Linked DNA regions of Homo sapiens: region 1 is linked to region 2. Evidence: promoter capture Hi-C in 16 types of primary human blood cells and fetal thymus (Javierre and others, 2016). All regions are on one chromosome and are shown on one strand. The core of a region is centred on a gene start or on the middle of the fragment in contact, and the rest is flanking DNA. Distances in the headings are between cores, read along the strand shown. Region 1 holds the start of C12orf57 (chromosome 12 open reading frame 57). Region 2 holds the start of CD27 (CD27 molecule).

Region 1 (6,279 bases), core at 144-2,643, 500 kb before region 2:
TTTGGGGAACACCAGGATCTCACCAAAAATTTAACCACCAACCCCCCCCAAACAAAAATTAGCTGAAACACCCTGGAGAGACTGCAGCCACTGCTGTCATGCAGACATGTCACTAAAAGGTGGCACAACAGCATTTAAGTCCAGCTCTGCTACTCGAGAGTCTGCACCATTAGAGTTTGCTTCCTCATCACAAAATGGAATAATAATGTGATTAACAGTACAGGTTGACCATCCTTAATTAGAAAATCCAAAATCTGAAATTATGAGTGCCAGTGTGAGGCCGAAAATGGAAAATTCCACACCTGACTTCATAGTGGGGGGTGGGGGAGACTGTAGTCAAAACGCAGTCAAAACTTTGTCTCATGCACAAAATTATTCAGACTATTATATAAAATTACCCTCAGGCTATGTGCATAAGGTGCGTGTATATGAAACAAAACAATTTCGTGTTCAGATTTAGGTCCCATCCCCCAAGATATCCATGTATATGTAAATATTCCGAAATCTGAAAAAACCCGAAACACTTCCGGTCCCAACCATTTCGGGTAAGGGATACAGAACCTCTACTGTACAAAACGCAACTCGGACGCACAAGCTCAGGGTAGACCCTGGGCTCTGAGTGCCAAGAATGTTAGTCAGATTGTGGCTGCCGCCGTGTGGCGAGAAAGGGGACAACCGCTCATGGGCCCACAGATCCGGCGCCCTCTCCCGACCCAACTCCCGCCTTCCCGCGTCTGACCCGCCTTCCCGCGTCTGACCCACCTTCCCCGTCGCAGCTGAAGCCATAGGCTTTGATAACCTCCTGCTGGATCTGCGTGGCCACGGGCAGCACGAATTGCAGCATCTTACCCATGTCGTTGCAGGCGTTATCCCGAGCCTCGTCCATGCGCACTGCATTCTCCGGGGCGGAGAACGCCTGGATCACCTCCGCGAGGACCACTGCGCGCCAGAAGCATCCCAGGGAGGCGTCCCGGGTAGGCGTCGGAGAACAGACAGCGGGCCCAGCGGAGAGCGCAAGGAATTAGTGGATTGAGGCTGTAGGTAACCCAATAAGATCCCAAGTCTTGGGGGCAAGCGCCCCACTTAGAAGGACGGTACCCGGCGTCCCCTACCCCATTTTCCCGGCGGACGTAGCCAGGTTTGTCGCCCCACATCCTCCGCCCGCATCCTCCCCAGACCAGCAGCCCATGCCTTGACTACCCCAGGCCAGCAGCCTATGCCTTGACTAGGACGATTCTCACCCTTTGCTTGCTCAGCGCTCAAGGCCGCCGGTTGGGTCGAGGCGGACGCCATAGGGCGTCTGAAGCTCTAGGTTCAGCGGAGGTAAATGGAAAACTCACGAATAAAGAGCCACGTCCTACAACCGTTCCCAACGCCCCTGGGAGCGGAAAGGAAACAGCATCCGGCGCAGCCGGAAGCGCCCAGGCGTGGCCCAAACCTTCATACCCCAAGCTTACAACTGCATCAAGACCACCAAAACTACCCATAATTTTTGCACAGTGAAAACAATCTATCATTGGCAACAAACATCATAAGAGGGGCTTTCCGGTAAAAAGCCAGAAAGCCTACTAGACAAATTCTAAAAGAGCTGTAACACTGCTGCGTATGTGTTTGGAGAGAAGATGGGATATAAAGGAACTCCACAATTGATGAGGGTGAGCTTAGGTGACTTTTTTCTTGTTCCTATTACTGTATAAACAACGACGCATGTGGTAACTTTCAGTAGGAAAAATAATATTCTAAGGAACTTACTTAAGTCATTCATTTCTAGAGTTCGCGAACATTTGTTCTCAGCCCATGCAAATGAGTTCGGTGCTGATTGGTTGAGAAAGCAGCCAGTCACAGCCCCTTCGTTGTTGTTAAGCCCGGAGACCTGGATTCGGCAGTAAAGGCCCAGAGCAAAAGCCGTTGTCGCAGTTTCCTAAAGGCCTTGTCTATTGATGAGCGATGGAGCCTAATGCCCGGCCCGATTTCCCTTCCCTTCCAGGCTTTTATCACCCACTCCCTTCTCAAACTGTAGGTGGTTAAGGATGCCAGGTACTAATCGCCTGGACCTATTAAAACTAGCCCACCCCACCCCCGCTTCATAACCGGCTTTGTTTTTTGTTTTTGAGACGGAGTCTTGCTCTGTCGCCAAGCTGGAGTGCAGCTGGGGGGGATCTTGGCTCACCATAACCTCCACCTCCCGGGTTCAAGCGATTCTCCTGCCTCAACCTCCCAAGTCGCTGGGACGACAGGCGCGCGCCACCATGCCCAGCTAATGTTTTGTTTTTAGTAGAGACAGGGTTTTGCCATGTTGGCCAAGCTGGTCTGGAACTCCTGACCTCGTGATCCGCCCGCCTCGGCCTCCCAAAGTCCTGGGATTACCAGCGTGAGCCGTCGCGCCTGGCCTCATAACCGTTTCTTAAAGTATTCCACGGAAAGGTTTCAGGACTCTGAAGCCCTTGTTCCGGAGGACTCTGGTGGCTCCTAGCAGTGAGACCCGTCTGAATAGATTCCTAGAACTGACCACGTCAGAGGTGGGCCTGTCCCAGGCCTCTAGTGTTTGGTTGGTTGGGGTGTCTTTTGTTTGTTTGTTTTGAGATAGGGCCTTGCTCTGTCACCCAGGCTAGAGTGCAGTGGTGCGATCATGACTCACTGTAGCCTCGACCCCCAAGTGATCCTCCCACCTCAGCCTCCTGAGTAGCTGGGACCACAAGTGCACCACAACCCCCAGCTGATTTTGTCTTAAGATGGGGTTTCTCTATGTTGCCCAAGCTGGTTTCCAACTCCTGGGCTCAAGCAATCCACCCGCGTCTCACAGGCATAAGCCACAGAGCCCAGACCGAGGCCTCCACTGGCGCGCAGCGGTCCTGCCCAGCCTTGGGGCAGGAGGGGGCACCAGCACCCATGGTACCGCCTCCAGCTGAGTCAAGGCTCTGGGCTCTTCAGGGATCCCCTCTCCAATTCTTCCCAGCCCCCACACCCCGTTCCTTAAGAAGGTCTGGTCTCTTCCCGCTTCCCTGCCAGGCCCTGGCTGCAGTTCTCTCTAAGCACCGCTGCACTGAGACCCAGCCTCACCCCCATATCCCGCAAAGAATAGTCACAGCCATGTTCCTGGGGAGTTGTGAGGATGTTTTTGTTTGGTTGGTTTTGGTTGGGATGTTTTTTTAAGAGCGTCATATAGATATTTATATATATAAATTATTAGTGTGGGGAAGGGGCAAGGGGCATACATTGCAGAGGGGGCGCGCACACAGGGATCGGGGAGGGGCAGGGGTGGCACACGATGCTACGCAAAACAGCCACATCTAACAGATGAAATAATCACACCAACGGGGCAGGGGAGGGGCGGCGGCCACAGGGGTTGGGCATGGGGGAGGAGAAAAGCAGGGGGGACAAGGAAGAGAGACCTGGTCCAAGATTCTGTGCGCTTTCTGTCCCCATCCTCGCCACCTCCCCACCTCTGCACACCACATCGGGCCTTGGCCTTCTGTCTGTCCCTCCCTCCCCCACTCTCTGTCCAGCTGCGGAGGCCCTGCAACTGAGCAGCACCCTCTTGGCTCTGGGTGGCAGGCCAAGGGCACGGTGGGGGGAGGGTGGGGGTGCTCCAAGGTCCAATGTAGGAGCCATGGTGCTCTCTTGATCGCAGGTTCTACAGTGGCTTGTCGCTTTCCTTCTTCAGGTGACTAGGGAAGGGGCAGTGCATAGCAGAGAGGTAAGAGACTTGAGACCAACTCTGACCTTGCCCCCTCTTACCGAAGGGGTTGGGAGAGGAGGGGTTCCCTCCCCCAGGAGCACGGTGCCCAGCCGTACCATGCCCACAGCTCCTCCCAGGCTCGCTGAGCCCATGTCCCCTGGGCTGGGGCACCCTAGGGTACCTGTAGTAGTCCTCCTGGGCAGGCAGCGGCACACTGTGCAGCGGGTGATGGGCATGCAGCCACTGCTGCTGTTCCAGCGCCAAGCGCTGCAGCTCAGCTGACTGTGCGTGCATGGCCTGCAGCTGATGAGCTGCTGACATCGGGGCAGAAAGGGAGGCCGGCAGGTCCCGGTAAGGGGCAGCTGTGAGCAGGAAGGGCAAGGGGCATATGACCAACGGATAACAAGTACCTGCTCTGGACCAGGGGATAGCCAGCTCCTTTACATACAAAGGTAATGAACTAAAAAGTGAGGTAACACACCCAGTTCTGTAAGTTGCCAGTGGTAGGGTGGAATTGGGATTCGAACCTCTTAGGCTGACACTAAAACTCGTGCTTCTCTTGGGCAGAGCTCCAGCTCTCCTATTCCCATGCCCAGCTCCTCTAGGCACCTCCTCATCCCTCCCCAAGCCCAACTAGGCCCATCCCCCCACCCAAATACCTCCTTTCTGCCCTTTTCTCATTGGAGCTGCCTACCCCAACTTCCATCCTTACCAAAGAGCTGGTGACGAAGAACTTCGTTCTCGTGCAGAGGGTGAGGAAGCAGGGGGTTAGGGAGAGTTCCAGCTGGGTAGGGGATCCGGGTAAGGTGAGACCCTGAGGCCAGGGGGTCAATGAGAGGGTGCACCGAGGCAGAGGCTGGAGGGCAGAGAAGAGGAAGGTGTCACCAGAAGGCAGGTTTGGGGCAAACCATGCATTTGGGTGAAGGGATCCAAGCCTGGGAACTGAGTCAGACAAACACAAGGAGGTCCAAAGTGGAACAAAGGCAGAGTGGAAGAACTAGAGGCCTGGCAGGGGTGGACAGGCTGAGCCCTACTGGAGGAGGGACATATGGATGACACAGGACAGGAGATTACAGTCATCAGAAGGGTCTGAGGGGAAGGACAGAGAGAGGTAGACTGCGTGAAGAAGGTGGAAGATGATAGAAGTTTAGAAAATAAGACAAGAAGAGGCCGGGCACAGTGGCTCAAGCCTATAATCTCAGCACTTTGGGAGGCTGAGGCAGGCAGCTCACCTGAGGTGAGGAGTTCAAGACCAGCCTGGCCAAGATGGTGAAACCCTGTTTCTACAAAAAATACAAAAAAATTAGCCAGGCAGGGTGGCACACGCCTATAGTCCCAGCTCCTCGGGAGGCTGAGGCAGGAGAATCGCTTGAACCTGGGAGGTGGAAGCTGCAGTGAGCCGAGATCGCGCCACTGCACTCCAGTCTGGGCAAAAGAAAAAAAGGAAGCCGGGTGCGGTGGCTCACGCTTGTAATTCCAGCACTTTGGGAGGCCAAGGCGGGTGGATCACAAGGTCAAGAGATCAAGACTATCCTGGCCAACATGGTGAAACCCCGTGTCTACTAAAAATACAAAAATTAGCTGTACTTGGTGGCACACGCCTGCAGTCCCAGCTACTCGGGCAGGCAGTGCCTGCTGAGGCAGAAGAATCACTTGAACCCCAGAGGCGGAGGTTGCAGTAAGCCGAGATCGCGCCACTGCACTCCAGCTTGGTGACAGGGCGAGACTCCGTCTCAAAAACCAAAAAATGGTGAAAGGATAGTAAGTAAAGCTCATTATCGCCTATGACACCCAAACCCAAAGCTACAGGGCCCTTTCTAGAAAGTTACAGATCTAGAGATGGGGAAAAACATGAAAGACCTCGCAGAGGGAGAAGAGGAGAAAATGGCAAAAAATGAGTTGAATCCAGAGAAATCAGAAGATAGGTTTGTGGGTTGGGCACGGTGGCTCACGCCTGTAATCTCAGGACTTTGGGAGGCCGAGGTGGGTGGATCGCTTTGAGCTCAGGAATTTGAGACCAGCCATGGCCAACATGGCGAAACCCCGTCTCTACCAAAAATACAAAAAGTAGCCAGGTATGGTGACACACGCCTGTAATCCCAGCTACTCCAGAGGCTGAGGTAGGAGGATCACTTGAGACCGGGAAGTCGAGGCTGCAGTGAGCTGTGATTGCGCCACTACACTCCAGCCTGGGTGGCAGAGCCAGACCATGTCTCAAAAAAATAAATAAGAAGACAGGTTTGTGAAGGGCTTGGGAGAATGGGGCTGTGAGAATAGAAAAGTGTCCTTCAAAAGCTCCCGTGTGGGCCTCTGTCATGGGAAGGATACTAGACTATGGAGAGAACTGGGCTGTGGGGCATACAGGCTTTGTGGCCAGGGAAGGCCATGAGAAGACAAGGCTGAGAGAACGTCAGGGAGGCAAAGTTCAGGGCAGCAATCTCAGGAAAGGTTCATGCCAGGCCAGGGGAGGAAAGTCTTGGCCATAGGAATGAAAGAGCCCAGTCATGATAGGGGGAAGGTGGCCCCAAAGGGCCAGGGCAAGGAAGGAGGGGTCTCACCTGCATGGATAGCATCTTGCTGGTGCAGGTGCAGGTGCGAGT
Region 2 (6,825 bases), core at 767-3,266:
GGGACTACAGGTTCGTGCCACCACGCCTGGCTAACTTTTTGTATTTTTAGTAGAGACAGGGTTTTGCCATGTTGCCCAGGGTGTTCTTAAACTCCTGGGCTCAAGGGATCCGCCTGCCTTGGCCTCCTAAAGTGCTGGGATTACAAGTGTGAGCCACTGCTCTGGCTTTTTGTGTGTGTGTGTGTGTGTGTGTGAAAAAGGGTTTTGCTCTGTTACCCAGGCTGGAGTGCAGTGATGTGAGCAGCCTGGACCTCTTGGGGACCTCTTGGGCTCAAGTGATCTTCCCATCTCAGCCTCCCAAGTAGCTGGGACTGCAGGTGCACTACCATGACCAGCCAATTTTTTTAGAGACAAGGTCTCACTATGTTGCCCAGCTGGTCTCAAGCTCCTGGGCTCAAGTCTCTACAAAATATGCAAATACCCTTCTGCCTTGGCCTCCCAAGTGCTGGGATTATAGGCATGAGCCACCACATCTGGTGTTGGTTTTTGTTTTTGTTTTTACGGGACCAGGCACTACAGCTCACACCTGTAATCCTGGCACTTTCAGAGGCTGAGACTAGAAGATTGCTTGAGCCCAGGAGTTCAAGGCTGTGGGGAGCTATGATTGCACCACTGCACTCCAGCCTGGGTGACAGAGCTAGACCTTGTCTCTAAACTAAACAAAACAAAACCCAGTACCAAGAGACCCAGTGACACCAAACACGTTTTGCAAGTAGGTAGTTTAATAGTTACAGTTACCTGGTTCTAAAAAGTGTCTTGCTAGAGAACATTTGTTCAAAGGGGCCACTTTAAAGCCTGCTATTCTAGTGTATACTGGCCGTAGTTTCTGAAATTGTAGCGAAGATGGAGAAATAATAACAGCATTCATAAGCACAACTGCAGATATTATACTTCTTAGTTTAAAAAAAACCTTTTTTTTTGGAACTATAAAATAAAAACACAGGCTACATACATACTCATTTTCTCAAATTGGCTTTTGTGCAAAAAAAGGTTGTTACCTATTGGGTTGCTTTGTTATTTCCTTAGAAAGATGTATTCCAAATTCCCAATGGCCAACCTGCACATGTGCACTCTGGGAACACAGTCAGTTTATTGGTTGGGGGTTGCTTGCCCGAAATCTGGGGTCATAGAGCCACTTCTCTCATTTTATTGTCTTGATCCTATCCATAGACCCGTTCTCACCAATCCCTCAAATTCTATTTATCCCTTTCCTGGAATACTAGATGTCTGCCCACGTTAATTCATGCCCCACCTAGGGTGCCGCATTTCCCAGCATTGGCTCCACTTGCTGTGAGCCTTGAAGAAGGCCAAAGCTTTGGCCCCGTCATCCTCCTTGCACCCCCAAACCCGTCACCAGCCTTGCTCCCCCAGATGCTTGTCCATCGTCCCCACCTACACACCCTTGCCCACCTCACCAGAGTTACAGTGCCGACAGCTCTCACAGTGGGGCCGGGTGTGGTGGTCAGGAGAGAAGGAGACCCCCGGTATGCAAGGATCACACTGAGCAGCCTTTCTATGCTGGTCACAGTCCTTCACGAGGAATGTTCCTGGGAGGAGAGGGTAAGGGATCAAGGCCTGAGAAGGGCTGGTTCTCTGCCCTCTTCAAGGTGGTGCCTCCCCACAGCTGCAGGATTTCCCTCCTTGCTTGAGCTCAGTCTCACCCTGCGCCTATTTACTGTATTAACCCCAGTCCTCTCTCTTTCGCCACTCACCTGGCCCTTACCAAGGCCCCCTCTTACCTGGCTCACACATCTGGCAGCACAGCTTTCCCTGAGCCCAGTAGTGCCTCTCTGGGCAGCTCTTGGGGGCTGGAGTAGCTGAGAGCCCCACCAGGGTCCCCAGAACGCACAGCCACCAGGGATGTGGCCGTGCCATGGTCCCTGCCCAGGCGGCTCCTTTCTGTGCCCAGTTGCTGATGCTGGCCTCTGGAGTTAGCACCTCCAAGCTGGGCGCTGCTGTCTCTTCTTTGCACCCCCTGGGCAGTGGCTGCTTCAGGTGGCAAGCCAACCTTTGAAGGCAGAATCTCTATTGTGGCTGTTTTTTTTTTCTCTCTCATAGCAGCAACCTCCACCCCCTTCCCCTTCCGTGTGCTGGGGAGAGTATTAAAGAGCAAACTCTGTGAGACCTGCTGCTCTTCAAACATGCTTCCTCCAACACATGAGCCTTCCTTAGTTTCCGCCTCTCCTGCTCATGAAGCACGTAGCCCACTGACTCCTGCTTCTTTGACAAAAAGGTGATGGACACACAGTTGCTCACCCCTCCTATTCATGCACTTGTGCACAAAGGTGCCCACGTTACCCCCCCCCACCCACCCCCCCGTCCACAGTTTACAGACGAATTCGCAGGACTCCTGTCTCCCATACCTGCATCCCTCCTTTCACAGACAACAGTTGAAAGAAGGAAGGAGAACCAGAATTGAGCACAGGTCCACAAGCTCTTATCTGAAACTTTGGGGGTCAGATAAGTTTTGGAATTCAGAATTTTTCAGGTTTATACAGAAACCAGCACCACAAAACACCCTTGGGGAGTTGGGGTAGTCTCATAATCAAACGCAACATTTCTGCAGCAAAACTATTGAATATTTACACCAACTGGGAGGAAGCTTAAATAGCCTTGTCTCAATTGAGGTCTGGTTTGATGGCCAAACGAGTTTGCTACAGAATGCTCAGAATTGCAAGCAAGGGGTGTAGAGCTGCCTCTCTTCTGTCACACTCTGACCGATCACCTATGCTCTCCTTTAATCCTCATGTCAGTCTCTGATGTGGGTGCCACCTACTGCCCACATGGCCTTCCCTCTCAGACCCTTGCTCACTCCTCACTTTTGTGCCATCTTTATCCTCCCCTTTCCCACCTCTGGCTGTGTCAGTCACTGGTGTCCTGGATCGCCTGGAGCATCTTCTCTCCTAGCCTTGGGCACTTGGGATTAAAGGTAGCTTCCTACGGGGGTCATCTCTTTTTTATTTTCCCAGTTCTCCCAGCAAGACTGATTTCGGGATATTGGAAACAGCTAGACTTTTCCCTCTTTGAGTCATGGGGACACACACGGGTCAACAGCCTCCTCCACTCTTTCCTCAGCAACCGATATGTGGAGTGGCTTATTTCCCCAGGAAGTTTTTAATTTAGGGGCTTTGCCGTTGTTTCCACACTGTTCATAAATGTCACACTGCTGTGGTCACACCTGTCAGATCTGTTCTCTATCTCACTCTGTAGTTTCCTTTCTCCTCATTTTCTCCATTCTCTTGTCTTTTCCCAGCCCCCTCTGCAGCTCTTCATGGGGGTCCACTCAAGTCAGAAGCCACATTTGGGTGTGATTCAGAGAGCTGTTTATGCAAAACCAGCTTTGTCACCATCAGGCAAGGCACCTGAATTCCCACCGCAGAGAGTGTTGTGGCCGTGAGGACTTTTCTGTCACCAGCCATTTCCAGGTTGTGGTAAATGTGTTCACTGCAGGCATGGGGCAGTGGGGTGGCTAGCTGACTGCAGGCCCTGGGAGGGTGGATGAGACCCTCAGAAGAATCATGAGGAACTGGGGACCTTTAGGAAGAAACTTGTCGAACAGGGACTTGCAGTTCGCTGAGCCTAGCAACCTTGAACCGACTGGGAACTGCTCACTAGCCTAACGCTGCTGTCCTCTGGGCCAAAGCCCATCTCCTCTTTTCTACATATCACTTCTCCAGGGGGTCAGAGCAGGAGCAGGGTCTGCCTGGCTTTCCTGGAGGGCCTCGGCCAAGAGGAGGAAGGCCAGGTTTCTGGACGTTTTTCTTTCCTAGGCAAATAGAATGAGCTCATCTCCAGCACTCTTTGCATCCACTTCTGGTGAGCCTTCCCCATCCTAGGCTGGCTCCCTGGACGGGACCTTCCTTTTTTTTTTTTTTCCTCCCTCCATTTCACTCTGTCACCCAGGCTAGAGTGCAATGATGCAATCTCAGCTCACTGCAACCTCTGTCTCCCAGGCTCAAGCCATTCTCACGCCTCAGCCTCCTGAGTAACTGGGATGACAGGTGCGTGCCACCACGCTCAGCTAATTTTTGTATTTTTAGTAGAGATGGAGTTTTGCCACGTTGGTCAGGCTGGCCTCAAGTTGATCCGCCCACCTTGGCTGGGATTACAGGGGAGAGCCACCGCGCCCAGCTTATTTTTTGTATTTTTAGTAGAGATGGGGTTTTGTCATGTTGGCCAGGCTGGACCAGAACACCTAGCCTCAGGTGATCTGCCTGCCTCGGCCTCCCAAAGTGCTGGGATTACAGGCACGAGCCACCATGCCTGGCTGGGCCCTTCCTTTTGTCTAGAGGCCCTGGGATGCAGCCCGCTGACATCTTCCTTGAAATCTCACACAACCACTTTCTCTTTTGGGGTCAGCCTCTCCCCCATGCCTGGCTGGGGCATAAAAACATATGGTATTTTCTCAACAGCTCCCTGCTTTTCTTTCCTTTCCAGAAACAGGCCCACAGCAGCCCTTCTTGAGAACTCTGAGGACTCTCATGACTTTTTTTGGTTCTTTTTTTTTTTTTTTTTTTTGAGAAAGGGTCTCTCACTGTTGCCCAGGCTGGAGTGCAGTGGCATGATCTCAGCTCACTGCAACCTTTGCCTCCCAGGTTCAAGCGATTCTTATACATCAGCCTCCCAAGTAGCTGGGATTATAGGCACCGGCCACCATACCCGGCTAATTTTTTGTATTTTTAGTAGAGACGGGGTTTCACTATGTTGGCCAGGCTGGTCTCAAACTCCTGGCCTCAAGTGATCTGCCCTCCTCGGCCTCCCAAAGTGTTGGGATTACAAGCGTGAGCCACTGTGCCTGGCCTCTCATGACTTTTGAGAGGGCCTGACCAACCCTCCACCTGGCCCAGTGACTGTAGCCTAGATGTCAGCCAGGGGCACCCTGCTCCTTAAAATCTAGATAAGATGCTCTTTGCTTCCCACTCAGGGCAAGTCCTGGGCAGGCTGTCCACCTGCATGAGTTCCAGTAGGTTGGGTGTTCTTGTGGCTGCCTCTGGCTCTGATTTCTCTTTCAGCTAAAGTCTTGTTCTTGCCTCCGTGTCTCCTGTCTGTTCCCTTACCTGTACCCTGCCTCAGGCCCAAATTGTTGGACACAAGACTTGCTTAAAGTTTCCTCTAAACCAGCTCTAAACAGAAGGCTGTTAGGTGTGGCAGACTTTGTCTTTTTTCTCCAATTTTTATGAATCAATAACCTGTTAAAGCGCTCAGCAGGACCAGTCTCTGCAAGACCTTTCCTTAGGAGGAAGTTCTGTTATGGGACAAAGATGTCCGCAATCACTGTTCCTGACTTAGGCTTCCTGAGTCTCATCACCTGAAGCTCTGAGTTTGTCTGGCCCTCTTTGTCCCCTGCTCCCCATTGCTTCCTCCCCGACTCCCACTTTCTTCGATGACCACCACCAGCACTGCTGCCCCCACCACCTTAAAGCCTCCTTCCCAGCAAGGCTTTGAGAGGCCACCTGGTCAGGACAGTGAGTTAAGCTCATTAATGAGGTTCTGGGTCCTCGCAGCTCTGTAATTTTCATTTCTGCACCTCCCCAGTCTGGGTGACACAGGAGACTGACCAACTATGGGTATTTCCAGCCTCTGCCCACTCCTCAGAAGCCCAGCACAGCTCCCAGTGTCTCCTAGCACGTAAGGCACTGGCTAAACATTGGATGGTCCAGCTCAGCTTTGTGCTGTAGCGGCTCTGTCCACAATTATAAAATGGAAACGTCAGAGGGCTCAAGGCCCCTTAGACCTCCTCATTCATTTGACAAGCGTTTTTTGCACATTCATTTTGTGTTAGGAACCAGCCAAGTAATGGGGCACAAAGATGAAAAACAAACAGACAAATATGTGGTTTCTGCCCTGACGGAGTTGACACACCAGTGTGAGAGTCAGACATCGATCATATAATCTCAAAGACAAATGTAAAATTGGCCAGGTGAGGCGGCTCACACCTGGAATCCCAGTCACGTTGGGAGGCCGAGGCGGAAGGATTGCTTGAGCCTAGGAGTTTAAGACCAGCCTGGGCAACAGAGTGACACCCCGTCTCTACACATAATAAAAATAAATTAACTGGGTGTGGTGGCACGTGCCTGTGGTCCCAGCCACTCGGAAGGCTGAGGTGGGAGGATCACTTGAGCCCAGGGGGTCGAGGTTGCAGTGAGCCATGATCATGCCAGTGCACTCAAGCCTGGGAGATAGAGCAAGACCTCATCTCACAAAACCCAAAAAACAAAACAAAATTAAAATTAGTTAGTAATGGTCATTATTGCTATGAAGGAGAGAGTTGGGGTGCAATATAGGTGTCTATACCCCTAATAGGGGGATTTAAGGGGTAGGGAGTGCCTCATCCAGGAAGCAAAGTTTAACAGAGATATGTGGGATCTGGCAGCTCTCCACCTACATGAGAATTATTACTTCCCTTGGTTTCTGTGACACGATTCTATTTTCCTTGCTTTGACCACTTGTTTTTTAAGTGCTATTTTTTATTTTTTTATATACAGATTATATACAATAGGGATAATCTGTTCCTTGAAAGCCTGGTAGAACTTGATTTGCTTGTGTGTAGCTGTTTCACTGTTATTATTATTATTTTTTTTAGGCTGTCTTGCTCTGTTGCCCAGGCTGGAGTGCAGTGGCATGATCTTGGCTCACTGCAACCTCCTCCTCCTGAGGTCAAGTGATTCTCCTGCCTCAGCCTCCTTAGTAGCTGGGATTACAGGTGTGCGCCACCACACCTGGCTAATTTTTGTATTGTTAGTAGAGACGTGGTTTCACCATGTTGGTCAGGCTTGTCTCGAACTCTTGAGCTCAAGTGATCCACCTACCTTGGCCTCTCAAAGT

Evidence for each region. The method cuts DNA at HindIII sites, captures the fragments that hold promoters and counts their contacts. A CHiCAGO score of 5 or more calls a contact.
Region 1: a contact is called between the fragment with the promoter of C12orf57 here and the fragment with the promoter of CD27 in region 2, in 1 of 17 cell types (non-activated CD4 T cells). The highest score is 6.9, in non-activated CD4 T cells.

The regions. Positions count from the first base shown.
Region 1 is chr12:6,939,136-6,945,414 of GRCh38, reverse strand. C12orf57 (chromosome 12 open reading frame 57) reads right to left here and starts at 1,393. Exons shown (of 3, transcript NM_138425.4): 1 at 1,242-1,393; 2 at 763-939. The coding sequence starts at 1,293. RNU7-1 (RNA, U7 small nuclear 1) reads right to left here and starts at 1,599; the gene lies at 1,537-1,599. ATN1 (atrophin 1) reads right to left here. Exons shown (of 10, transcript NM_001940.4): 7 at 6,238-6,279; 8 at 4,392-4,535; 9 at 3,861-4,041; 10 at 3,094-3,668. The coding sequence ends at 3,635. RefSeq lists enhancers at 1-176, 737-886, 426-1,005, 897-1,016, 1,317-1,506 and 1 more and a silencer at 844-1,103. The HindIII fragment of the contact is 10,579 bases long and covers 1-1,454 here.
Region 2 is chr12:6,440,146-6,446,970 of GRCh38, reverse strand. It overlaps CD27 (CD27 molecule), which reads right to left and starts at 2,016. Exons shown (of 6, transcript NM_001242.5): 1 at 1,740-2,016; 2 at 1,416-1,547. The coding sequence starts at 1,875. CD27-AS1 (CD27 antisense RNA 1) reads left to right here. Exons shown (of 6, transcript NR_015382.2): 4 at 1-10; 5 at 3,254-3,425. RefSeq lists enhancers at 736-855, 1,565-1,744, 1,775-1,834, 1,379-1,880, 2,785-2,834 and 1 more and silencers at 3,915-3,994, 4,095-4,234. The HindIII fragment of the contact is 1,289 bases long and covers 1,316-2,604 here.